Regions from separate parts of the Homo sapiens genome. Here region 2 is linked to region 1. Evidence: promoter capture Hi-C in 16 types of primary human blood cells and fetal thymus (Javierre and others, 2016). All regions are on one chromosome and are shown on one strand. Each heading gives the region's core, a stretch centred on a gene start or on the middle of the fragment in contact. The rest is flanking DNA. Distances are from core to core; before and after follow the strand shown.

What was found. Contacts are between HindIII fragments. The CHiCAGO score rates a contact against its expected background, and 5 or more counts as called.
Region 2: a fragment that was not itself captured here is called in contact with the fragment with the promoter of TTLL1 in region 1 in 1 of 17 cell types (neutrophils); the score reaches 5.5 in neutrophils.

The regions. Positions count from the first base shown.
Region 1 is chr22:43,087,179-43,093,849 of GRCh38, forward strand. TTLL1 (TTL family tubulin polyglutamylase complex subunit L1) reads right to left here and starts at 2,213. Exons shown (of 11, transcript NM_012263.5): 1 at 2,099-2,213. It also overlaps the pseudogene RPS25P10. RefSeq lists silencers at 1,981-2,320, 2,085-2,379, 3,128-3,187 and an enhancer at 2,085-2,379. The HindIII fragment of the contact is 9,359 bases long and covers 1-6,671 here.
Region 2 is chr22:42,763,775-42,769,319 of GRCh38, forward strand. No RefSeq gene overlaps it. Among named protein-coding and RNA genes, the nearest start is that of A4GALT, 46 kb to the left of the region's middle. The HindIII fragment of the contact is 7,000 bases long and covers 760-5,545 here.

The DNA.
Region 1 (6,671 bases), core at 963-3,462:
TCTCCATGGCACTTGGGTTGTAAGCAATCATTTAGTCCAGTGCTACTCAAAGCATGGCCCACATGTGAGCAGCACCTGGAGCTTGTTAGAAATACAGATTCTTTGGGAGGCCAAGACAGGTGGATCACCTGAGGTCGGGAGTTCGAGACCAGCCTGGCTAACATGGTGAAACCCCGTCTCTACTAAAAATACAAAATTAGCTGCGCGTGGTGGTGCACATCTGTAATCCCAGCTACTCAGAAGGCTGATGCACGAGAATCACTTGAACCTGGGAGGTGGAGGTTGCAGTGAGCTGGCATCACGCCACTGCACTCCAGCCCGGGCAACAGAGTGAGACTCCATCTCAAAAAAAAAAAAAAAAAGAAATACAGATTCTTAGCAGGGCACGGTGGCTCACGCCTGTAATCCCAACACTTTGGGAGGCCAAGGTGGGTAGATCACCTGAGGTCAGGAATTCAAAACCAGCCTGGCCAACATGGTGAAACCCTATCTCTACTAAAAATACAAATATCAGCCGGGCGTGGTGGTGGGCGCCTGTAATCCAAGCTATCTGGGAGGCTGAGGTGGGAGGATTGCTTGAACCCGGGAGGCAGAGGTTGCAGTGAGCCAAGATCGCACCACTGCACACTCCAGCCTGGGTGACAGAGTGAGACGGTCTCAAAAAAAAAAAAAAAAAACCAAGAATATGGCCAGGCACAGTGGCTCACGCTTGTAATCCCAGCACTTTGGGAGGCCGAGGTGGGCGGATCACCTGAGGTCAGGAGCTCGAGACCAGCCTGGCCAACATGGCGAAACCCCATCTCTACTAAAATTTAAAAAATTAGCGGGGCATGGTGGCGCGTGCCTGTAATCACAGCTACATGGGAGGCTGAGGCAGGAGAATCGCTTGAACCCAGGAGGCAGAGGTTGCAGTGAGCCGAGAGCGACCGCACTCCAGCCTGGGCAACAAAGCAAGACTCCGTCTAAAAATAAATAAATAAATAAATAAAGTAATAACAATGTCAGTGATGACTTCATGTTGAGCAGGGCATTCGTTCACAGCGGTATTGTCACTGTCCATCTCCACGCCCGCACTGGGTGACAGTACCATGCTCCACAGTGACTGCTTACCAGTGTCTGTAATTTGAGGGCAGAGAAGGGCCCATCTTTTTTTTTTTTTTTTTTTTTTTTTTTTTTGAGACAGAATCTCGCTCTGTCGCCCAGGCTGGAGTGCAGTGGCGCAATCTCGGCTCACTGCAAGCTCCGCCTCCCGGGTTCACGCCATTCTCCTGCCTCAGCCTCCCGAGTAGCTGGGACTACAGGCCCCCGCCACCATGCCCGGCTAATTTTTTTTTTTTTGTATTTTTAGTATAGACGGGGTTTCACCGTGTTAGCCAGGATGGTCTCGATCTCCTGACCTCGTGATCCTCCCGCCTCGGCCTCCCAAAGTGCTGGGATTACAGGCGTGAGCCACCGTGCCCGGCCGGGGCCCATCTTTTTGTACCGCCACAACCCGGCACCATAATGTGCTCATCAAACGTTTCCTGAGCAAAGAACCTGCTTTGCAAATGCCAAAAGGGCTAACAATGATAAGATACTTTCACTTCCAGAATTAATCTCCTCTAATGCCCCAGCTACTCTATGGAAAAGGATGACTACCCCGCCCTGCCCTCTTAGCTGATAGGGAATCAGAGAGGGGAAATGTCTTGGTCCAGTCATCTAGAGGGAAGACACAAGGCTCTTGTCTCCTGCCCTGAGTTCTCTCCACAGGTACATTGCGCCCTGCAAAAGATGCCAACAGAAACAACACAGATTGCAAACGAATGGGAAACGTGTAGGAACAATGAAAGTCTGGGATAACAAATAATAAACATAATGATGCAATTGCAACAGTCGGACAGCACGAGGTAAGTCATAGGAACTCAGCGGACGGAGAAAGGCACGGTGGTTAGCGCGGGCTTCCTGGAGGACGCGGATCCGGCAAGCAGCATCTGAACCGCATTTTCGCAGCCGCGTAGACACTGGCGCCCACACTCTCTCACCCATGCGCACTCGCCAGCCCGCGCGCAGCCACACCCTCGGTGCCCGGGAGGCGGCGGCCTGGGGGACAGGACCTCACCTGTGGGCTCAGAGCGCCGAGGGACTCGGAGGAGCGCCCTGCAGGGATGCCTCGAGCCGCGCCCTCGCCCCGCCTCCAGCCCCTCTCCGGCGCTCGCAGGAGTACGCAGCCGACTGCCAGGCGCACCGGCCCGCCCCGCCCCGCGCTGCACTCTACTTCCAGGGCGGCGCCCTGGCAACCCAGGACGCGACCGCCGGCGCTGCGACTATTTCCGGAGTCAGACTTGCCTGGGGCTCCTTTGGGCTCCATACCTCGGGCGGCCGCTATGCCCAGGGCTTGGATCCTAGGAAATGCCAGGCCGTCCACCCTCTCGGGGCCCAGAAAGGAGATTGAGAAGGGTCTGGAGCACGGGATTAAGTCTAAAAAGAAAGGTAGAGCGGTGTGATGATTAGGTCCGAATCCTGGGTTCGGTCTCAATCCGCTGTTTAGCCTCTCCTACCCCTTCTACCTCGGCTTCCTTATCTGAAGAAATGGTGATGTTGCGCCACTGCACTCCAGCCTGGGCGATAGAGCGAGACTCCATCTCAAATAATAATAATAATAATAACATAAAAATAAAATAATTTTTTTTAAAAAGTGTTTATCTGGGCCAGACTCGGTGGCTCACGCCTGTAATCCCAGCACTTTGGGAGGCAGAGGCGGGTGGGTCGCGAGGTCAGGAGATCGAGACCATCCTGGCTAGGCTGAGGCAAGAGAATCGCTTGAACCCGGGAGACAGAGGTTGCAGTGAGCCAAGATCGTGCCACTGCACTCAAGCCTGGGCGACAGAACAAGACTCCGCCTCAAAAAAAAAAAAAAAAGACGTTTATTATTCTCGTTATAGACCTGTGTTACCTCGAATTCTCTATACAATTATTCATTTTTAATTTCATCAATTTAAAGAGTTATGCAAACTTGTGCAACTTGTAAGTGACAGAGTCTGGCTTTGAACCCAGGACACCTGACCATTCATGCTGCTGCCTCTCAGGAGGGGTGGTGGTGTGCTTTCTTAGTGATGATTGGAGCTTTGCTAACATCACTTCCTATAATCTCCCACACAACCGCCTCCCAGGCCCAGAGCACATTCAGCGCATCATCATTTACTTTTGGCACCATCTAGTGGAACCAACACTTATCTGGAGTCCAAATTGCCAATTCATACCCTTCAGCTGCTGTCTGGTTGTGAGGCCTTGAGAAGTCCCAAGGCTTCCGACTACAGTGTTCTCACCTTAAACCCAGGAGATGAGTGAAGGCTTGCAAGACGTGGTTAGGGCCTGGCATAGTAAAGTGTTCAATAAACATTGTAGCCTTCCAGCATGTTGCCTCATGCCTGCAATCCCTGTACTTTGGGAGGCCAAGATGGGAGGATCACTTGAGGTCAGGAGTTCCAGACCAGCCTGGCCAATATAGCAAGACCCCATTTCTAAAAAAAAAAGAAAAAATATTTTTAATCAGCCGGGTATGGGGGCGTAGCCAGCAGTCCTACTCAGTTACTCAGGAGGCTGAGGTGGATCACTTGAGCCTAGGAGATTGAGGCTGCAGTGAGCTATGATCCCGCCACTACACTACAGCCTGGCCAACAGAACAAGACTCTGTCTCTTAGAGAAAAAAAGTTAAAAAAAACAACAACAAAAAAAGAATTTTAAGGCAGGGCATGGTGCCTTACGCCTGTAATCCCAGCACTTTGGGAGGCCGAGGCGGGTGGATCACCTAAGGTCAGCAGTTTGAGACCAGCCTGGCCAACATGGTGAAACCCCGTCTTTACTAAAAATACAAAAATTTGCCGGGCATGGTGGTGCGCACTTGTAATCCCAGCTACTTGGGAGGCTGAGGCAGGAGAATTGTTTGAGCCTGGGAGACAGAGGTTACAGTGAGCCGAGATCGCACTATTGCACTCCAGCCTGGGCAACAGGGCGAGACTCCGTCTTAAAAAAAAAAAAAGAACTTTAAGATGGCGACAGCAGCATTAAACTAACTTCAGGGCTTGTCTGAGCACGGGGTCCTATGGTTCTGTACAGGTCACAGGCCCATGAGGCTGGCCTTACCCTAAGAAGCTGGCCACAGCTCCCCTCAATGAATCCCCACAAGAACTCTGCTGAGTTAATGGTGTTATCACCACTTTTTAAAAAATAGTGGTAAATTGGCCGGGCGCAGTGGCTCACGCCTGTAATCTTAGCACTTTGGGAGGCCGAGGTGGGCGGATCATGAGGTCAAGAGATCGAGACCATTCTGGCCAACATGATGGAAACCCGTCTCTACTAAAAATACAAAAATTAGCCGGGCATGATGGCACACGCCTGTAGTCCCAGCTACTCAGGGAGCTGAGGCGGGAGAATCGCTTGAACCTGGGAGGCAGAGGTTGCAGTGAGCTGAGATCACACCACTGCACTCCAGCCTAGCGACAGAGCGAGACTCTGTCTAAAAACAAAAAAAAGAAAAAGTGGTAAAATATGTATAACATAAAACTTAACCATCTTAGCCATTTTTAAATGTACAGTTCAGTGATGTTAAATATATTCACGTTGTGCAATCAGTCTCCAGAACTTTATCCTCTTGCTAAACTAAAACTCTTTACCCATTGAACACAATTCCCCATCCTTCCTTCCCCAGCCCCTGGTAACTGCCTTTCTACTTTCTGTCTTAATGAATTAGACTCCCTAAGTACCTCATCTAAGTGGAATCTGGGCCAGGCACAGTGGCTCATGCCTGTAATCCCAGCATTTTGGGAGCCTGAGGCAGGAGGATTGCCTGAGCCCAGGAGTTTGAGACCAGCCTGGGCAACATAGGGCGACCTCGTCTCTGCAAAAAAAAAAAAAAAGAAGAAGAAGAAGAAAGAAAGAGAAGGAAGGAAGGGAGGGAGGGAGGGAAGAAAGGGTTCGCTGCTGCTCTCTGAGCTTCGCCGTGCTATCAATGGATGACAAGAAGAACGAAGACACCGGAAAGTCGCTAAGAAAGACAAAGATTCAGTGAACAAATCTGGGGGCAGGGCCCAAAAGAAGAAGTGGTTCAAAGGCAAAGTCCGGGACAAGCTCAATAACTGAGTCGTGTTTGACAAACCTACCTATGACAAACTCTGTAAGGAACTTCCTAACCATAAACTTATAAGCCCTGCTGTGGTCTCTGAGAAACTGAAGATTCGAGGCTTCCTGGCCAGGGCAGCCCTTCAGGAGAACCTTAGTAAAGGACTTAACAAACTGGTTTCAAAGCACAGAGCTCAAGTAATTTACATCAGAAATACCAAGGGTGGAGATGTTATAGCTGCTGGTGATGATACATGAACAGGTCCAACCAACTGTACATTTGCAAAAATAAAACTTTATTAAATCAAAAAAAGAGGCCAGGCGCGGTGGCTCATGCCTATAATCCCACACTTTGGGAGGCCGAGGTGGGTGGATCACCTGAGCTCAGGAGTTCGAGACCAGCCTGGCCAACATGGCGAAACCCCGTCTCTACTAAAAATACAAAACTTAGCAGGGCATGGTGGCATGTGCCTGTAGTCCCAGCCACTAGGGGGGCTGAGGCAGGAGGATCGCTTGAACCCAGGAGGCGGAGGTTGCAGTGAGCCAAGATCATGCCACTGCACTCCAGCCTGGGCGACAGAGTGAGACTCCATCTCCAAAAAAAAAAAAAAAAAGAAAGAAAAAGAAGAAAGGAAGAAAGTAGAATCATACAGTATTTGTTATTTATTTATTTATTTATTTTTAGAGAGGACGTCTTGCTCTGTGGCCCATGCTGGGTGCAGTGGCAGGATCATAGCTCACTGTAACCTTGAGCTCTGGACCTCAAGTGATCCTCCTTCCTCAGCCTCTAGAGCAATTAGGACTACAGGCATGTGCCACCACACTCAGCTAATTTTTGTCTTTTTGTGACTGGCTTATTTCATGTAGCATAATGCCCTCAGGTTCATTCCTGTTGTAGTATGGATTTCCTTTTTTTTTTTTTTTAAGGCTGAAAACATTTCATTGTATGTTTTTAAGGCATTTAAAAAAATCCAGGGCGGGGGGAGGGGGGAGGGATAGCATTAGGAGATATACCTAATGTAAATGACGATTTAATGGGTGCAGCACACCAACATGGCACATGTATACGTATGTAACAAACCTGCACGTTGTGCACATGTACCCTAAAACTTAAAGTATAATTAAAAAAAAAAAATCCAGGGCCAGGCTTGGTGGCTCATGCCTATAATCCCAGCTCTTTGGGAGGCCCAGGCAGGCAGATCACCTGAAGTCAGGAGTTCAAGACCAGCCTGGCCAACGTGGCAAAACCCCGTCTCTATTAAAAATACAAAAATTAGCCGGGCATGGTGGCGGGCGCCTGTAATCCCAGCCACTCGGGAGGCTGAGACAGGAGAATCACTTGAACCCAGGAGGCGGAGATTGCAGTGAGCCGAAATCATGCCACTGCACTCCAGCCTAGGGGATAGAGCGAGAACCCGCCACCCAAAAAAAAAAAATCCATTCATCAGTTTCTACCTTTTGGCTATTGTGATTAATGCTACTATGAACACGGGTGTATATCTGAGACCCTGCTTTTAATTCTTTTTTTTTTTCTTAATAACTGAGATCAGGTCTCACTATGTTGCCTAGGCTGT
Region 2 (5,545 bases), core at 3,010-5,509, 320 kb before region 1:
CTGGGATTACAGGCGCCTGCCACCGCACCCGGCTAATTTTTGTATTTTTAGTAGAGAGAGGGTTTCGCCATGTTGTCCAGTCTGGTCTCATACTCCCAACCTCGGGTGATCTGCCCGTCTCGGCCTCCCAAAGTGCTGGGATTACAGGCGTGAGCCTCCGTGCCTGGCCCTATTTACTCTTAATATTCACTTTTATGCCTAATTTTATAATCATAGTTTCCTATTTTTCTCCACAAAGAGGCCCTGAGAATGCCACCCATCGTCTCCAGCGGTGTCTCATCTGGAGGTGGCCCTGCAGGCTGGGGCTGGCTTCCCTGGGCAATGAAGAGCGTGCTAGGCCCTCAGGGTCACGTGGGCTCCCTTGCCACCTCATTGGCAGTCACTGGAAGAGTTTGCGTTGGTTCAGAGCCCAGGGCCTGATTCAATCCACGATGCAGTTGGGTACTGCCCATGAGCTGAAAAACCCCATCAACCCTCTGACCCGGGCCCGGCCAGCCTCACTGGTGTGGAACCCGTCCCCCACCCCCACACCTGGCTGCAGGACTCACTCCCTACACCCCAGAGACACAGGGCGGGTGGGGAGGTGGGAGTGGGCCCCGAGTCACTCTGCCTGCTCCCAGCTCCGCCACCTTCCAGTGCTTGACCTTAGGCACTTCCCTGTACCTCGGTTTCCCCATTTATGAAAGCAGGGAATAATGTACCTGTCCCACAGAGCAGCTGTGAGGATGGACTGGACCAGTGATGGCTGGTGCTCTGTAAAGCTTGGTAAATACATAGGGGTGCCTGGGAGCTGCTCTTATTACCTACTCTGCAAAGAGATGGGACTTTTTGGAAGGTTTTGTGGACAGATGTGGGGAGGACCGTGTTCCACCCACCGACCCACCGCCCCATGGGCCAGCTTCTCCATCGGCACCTGCCTCTCTCTCCAGAGCTCTCCTCTTGAATTTCTTTCTCTGTTCAGTCTCCTCTTCCCCTTGCACCTTCTCACTCATCTTCCTTCTGAAGGCAGAGAACGGCTCTGGCACCTCCCACTCTCTGATGCTCCCACCCAAGCCCCCAGGGGCCTCTGATCACTCATGGGATGACCCCAAACTCCTCTCCTGCACTTCATCCCCGACGCCCATATAACCTGGCCAGGCTGACTCAGCCCCCAGAACAAGTTTCCCCACAAAAGCTGGGGACCTGGGCTCCTTTTGACCCCAGATAAGCCCTATCTTCTCCAGCTTCAGTTTCGGTTCATGAAACATGGAGGGAGGCACTCAGATCCCCCCCAGTCCACAGGAAAGGGCAGGAAGAGGTTCTGACACGGAGGTGGGAGGTGAACCCCAGGGACGCGGATCAGAGCTGACAGGCTGGGGCTTTCCAGGGTGGCCGCATCACACCCCAAACACAACCACCCAAACAGTGCGTCATCCAGGTCCCCTGAAGAGCTCAGTTCTGGTTGGAGACTCCAAGAAACAGCGGCCCCTGGCCCGAGCCCATGCCCCAGCCCCCGGCCTGGGAGAAGAGCAGGGAGTCGCACAGAGGCCGCATGGCTTCTGGATTGGTCAAGGCAGAGCCTGGGTGGGCAAGGAGGTCATCCTTGTGTGGCCGCGAGCTGGCCCCTTCATAGCTGGGAGCCCCGTTATCCACGTGCCTCAGGTCCTGAGTCTCTGCTCCAATGTTGCCTCATCAGAGAGGCCCTTCTCTGACCCTTTATAAAGTGCCATCTCTCTCATGCCTTCATCTTTCTTCCTGTCGTCCGCAGGAAGACAAGCAATGATCCAGAGTCTTGAAGCAGTGTGCCGCGGAAGGTGGCGTATCCGTGGGACCGACTGCTGGGCATGGGGCGTCCCAGCCAGCAGAGAGGCAGCACCGGCCCCACTGCCGTCCCTCCTCTCCACCCCTGAGTTCCCACTGTACCAGGAGTGGGCTTGCTGTTCTCTGGCTCCTGCATCCCTGTGGTGGAATTTCCTCCCTTCCCCCTGGAGGGAGGGGCTCCCTCACCCTACCCACACCCCAGGTGGAGCTCAGGGATCCTTCCCTGTGTCCCCTACAAGGCCAGCCCCTCCCAGTGGGACTCGTGTGGGGTCTCCTCCCACCCCATTCTGTCAACCATGTGTGTGACTTGAGGATGCAAGTGGTTTATGCATCTGTTATAAAAACAGTCCCCGCCCCTCTCTGCCCATTGTGCGTCCACAAGGCTCCCATGCCCTTGTGTTTATTTTCCCAGCATTTATGTTTCAGGTCAGTCTTTTCATGTCTGCCTTTTTATGCTTAAATAATGTGCTTAGGAGGCCAGACATGGTGACTCACACCTGTCATCCCAGCACTTTGGGAGACCGAGGTGCGTGGATCACTTGAGGTCAGGAGTTCGAGACCAGCCTGGCCAACATGGTGAAACCCCGTCTCTACTAAAAATACAAAAATTAGCCAGACACAGGGGGGAATGCTTGTAATCCCAGCTACTTGGGAGGCTGAGGTGGGAGTATCACTTGAGCCAGGGAGGCAGAGGTTGCAGTGAGCTGAGATGGCGCCACTGCACTCCAGCCTGGGCAACAGAGTGAGACTCCGTCTCAAAAAATAAATAAAAAATGCCAGGCGTGGTGGTCAGGAGTTCGAGACCAGCCTGGCCAACGTGGTGAAACCCCCTCTCTACCAAAAATACAAAAATTAGCTGGGCATGGTGGCACACACCTGTAATCCCAGCAACTTGGGAGGCTGAGGCATGAGAATAGCTTGAACCCAGGATGCAGAGTTTGCAGTGGGCTGAGATCGAGCCACTGCACTCCAGCCTGGGTGACAGAGCAAGACTCTATCTCAAAAATAAATAAATAAATAAAAATAAATAAAAAATAATGTACTTAGGCCGGGCATGGGGGCTCATGTCTATCATCCCAGTACTTTAGGGGGCTGAGGCGGGAGGATCTGTTGAGCCCAGGAGTTGGAGACCACTGTGGGCAACACAGCAAGACCCCATCTCTACCCAAAATAATTATACTGTGCTTAGCTGGACACTTCTCAGGTTCTCAGTGTTGCACAGGGTCTCCTGATTCTCCACCCTGGAAGTGAAGGATTTAATTCCCTCTCACACATAGAACCCCCCAACTGTCCCCACCCCCAACATAATTTTGGTGAGACAGACATTCAGTGTCTACGTTACTATGCGGGTGCAGCTCACGCTGAGCCGTGCAGCAGGCTGGGGTTCCTCATTTTCCCTGGAGTGCATCTGGTTCCCAGGCCACTTGTGCCCCAGTTTCTTCCTGGGGCTGTGACTTCACCTCTGCACTCTCCTTCCGCTATGTAAGCCGCCTCTCCACGTGTTCAGACACATTGGAACAGTTTCCTCCCAGAGCCTCCTGACCATCCCCTGTGGCCTGGTGCCTGGCCTCTGTCATCTGGCACCCACTCTCTCCTATCAGTTGGCTCCTGCTGCCTGGACCCCATCTTCCTCTATGTGGCTGCCCCTCGTTTTGCTCATGCCCACCCTCCAAGACTTCTTTTTTTTTTAAATATATATAATGGGGACGGGGTGCGGTAGCCCATGCCTGCAATTCCAGCACTTTGGGAGGCCGAGGCGGGCGGATCACCTGAGGTCAGGAGTTCGAGACCAGCCTGGCCAACATGGAGAAACCCCGTCTCTACTAAAAATACAAAAATTAGCCGGTTGTGGTGGTAGACGCCTGTAATTCCAGCTACTCAGGAGGCTGAGACAGGAGAATCGCTTGAACCCAGGAGGCAGAGGTTGCGGTGAGCCGAGATCGTGCCATTGCACTCCAGCCTGGGAGACAGAGAGAGACTCTGTCTCAAAAAAAAAAAATATATATATATATATATATATATATATATATATTTTTTTTTTTTTTTTTTTTTTTTAATTATTTTTTTTTTGCCCACGGCACAGTTCCAAGAGATCTCGGGAACATGTTTCCCTCCATGGCCTTCTTTTTAATTAATTAATTTATTTATTTATTTTGAGACAGAGTCTTGCTGTCACCCAGGCTAGAGTGCAGTGGTGAGATCTCGGCTCACTGCAACCTCCACCTCCCAGGTTCAAGCAATTCTCCTGCCTCAGCCTCCTGAATAGCTGGGACTACAGGGGTGCACCACCACGCCTAGCTAATTTTTTCACATTTTTAGTGGAGACAGGGTTTCACCATGTTGGCCAGGCTGGTCTTGAACTCCTGACCTCAAGTGATCTGCCCACCTCAGCCTCCCAAAGTGCTGGGATCATAGGCATGAGCTACTGTGCCCAGCCATCTACTTCTATTTAAGAAAGGGGCAGCAAACAGTGGCTTAGACACCCTGTGCCACGTGCAGGATTCATCCATGTGGGACTCACATAAGAGGACCAGCTGGACGGTTTTCCTGGGCGAACTGCTGATGTCACTATCTTTGGGTCTTTTCTCTTGAGTTGCTTGGACTTTGGAAAAGGATGTTACAAGGCCGTACAGAGGGCAGCTGAGGGGGCCAACCAGGTCTGGTGGAAGGCGAAGTGGCCCCCAAAGATGTCCCAGTCCTGATCCCTGGTAGCTGGGAAGATGTTGTTACAAGACAAAAGGAAATTTGCAGGTGTAATTAAGGTTACGAACCTTAAAATAGGGAGGGAAATTATCCTAGACATGGCTGGGATAGTGGGTCTGGTCCAGTCCCATGAGCTGTAAGAGCAGAAAAGGACTTTCTCTGGCTGGAAGCAGAAGAGAGACCAGGCCGAATGGGAAGCCAGAGAGTTTCCAAGTGTGAGGACTGGACATGCCGCTGCCGGCTCCGAGACGGGGGCCCACGGGCAAGGACAGAGACAGGCCTCTACTTGCTAAGGCTGGGCCCTGGCTGACAGCCAGCCAGGGAACAGGGACTTCAGTCCTATAGCCACAGAAACCAGATCCCACCAACCACCTGCGCGGACTCAGAAGGCAACTCACTTGCAGAGCCTCCGGAAGGGACACCCACCCAGCAGGCACTGGGCCCCCTCCAGCCACCCTCAGGCATGCGGGGCTGCAGCCAGAGAGGGGCACAGGGTCGGGCTTGGGCCTGTCAGACCCTCCCCTCCACAGTCTGAGTGACCTGGCCAGTGGCAGGATGGAGGCCTGAGAGGTGGCGCCGTTCACGGAACTGGGAGGGCCATGGGACCGGCTGGGGCGCTGGCTGACGGTGACGGGCGTGTGTGTGAGAACCTGAATGGATGAGGGTGGGTGGGTGGGTGGTGGGGTGGAGGCAGCTCCCTCCCCGTTTACTGGGGTGTGACTTGAGCACCTCGCAAGCACAGGCAGTGCCTCAGCCGCTTACTCTGTGAGGGGCCGACCGTGCCCACCTGCAGGCCCACTGTGTGCCGGGCACCCTGAGCCCCGCGTTTCCAGTGGCTCCAACTCTCCCACAGGTGACCCGGTGGATGCTGCTCTCCTCTGTGTGAGGGAGGAAGCGAGGGGACTGTCATGGCCCACGAGCCTGTTCGCCTCCACAAGCGGCTCCCAACCCCAGGCTCCTTCCAGCAAACCCTTGGAAAGGTCATAGAGCCTGGATGCCCCAGGCCTTGAGGGGCAGAGGGTGGGGGGCAGCAGGGTGGACA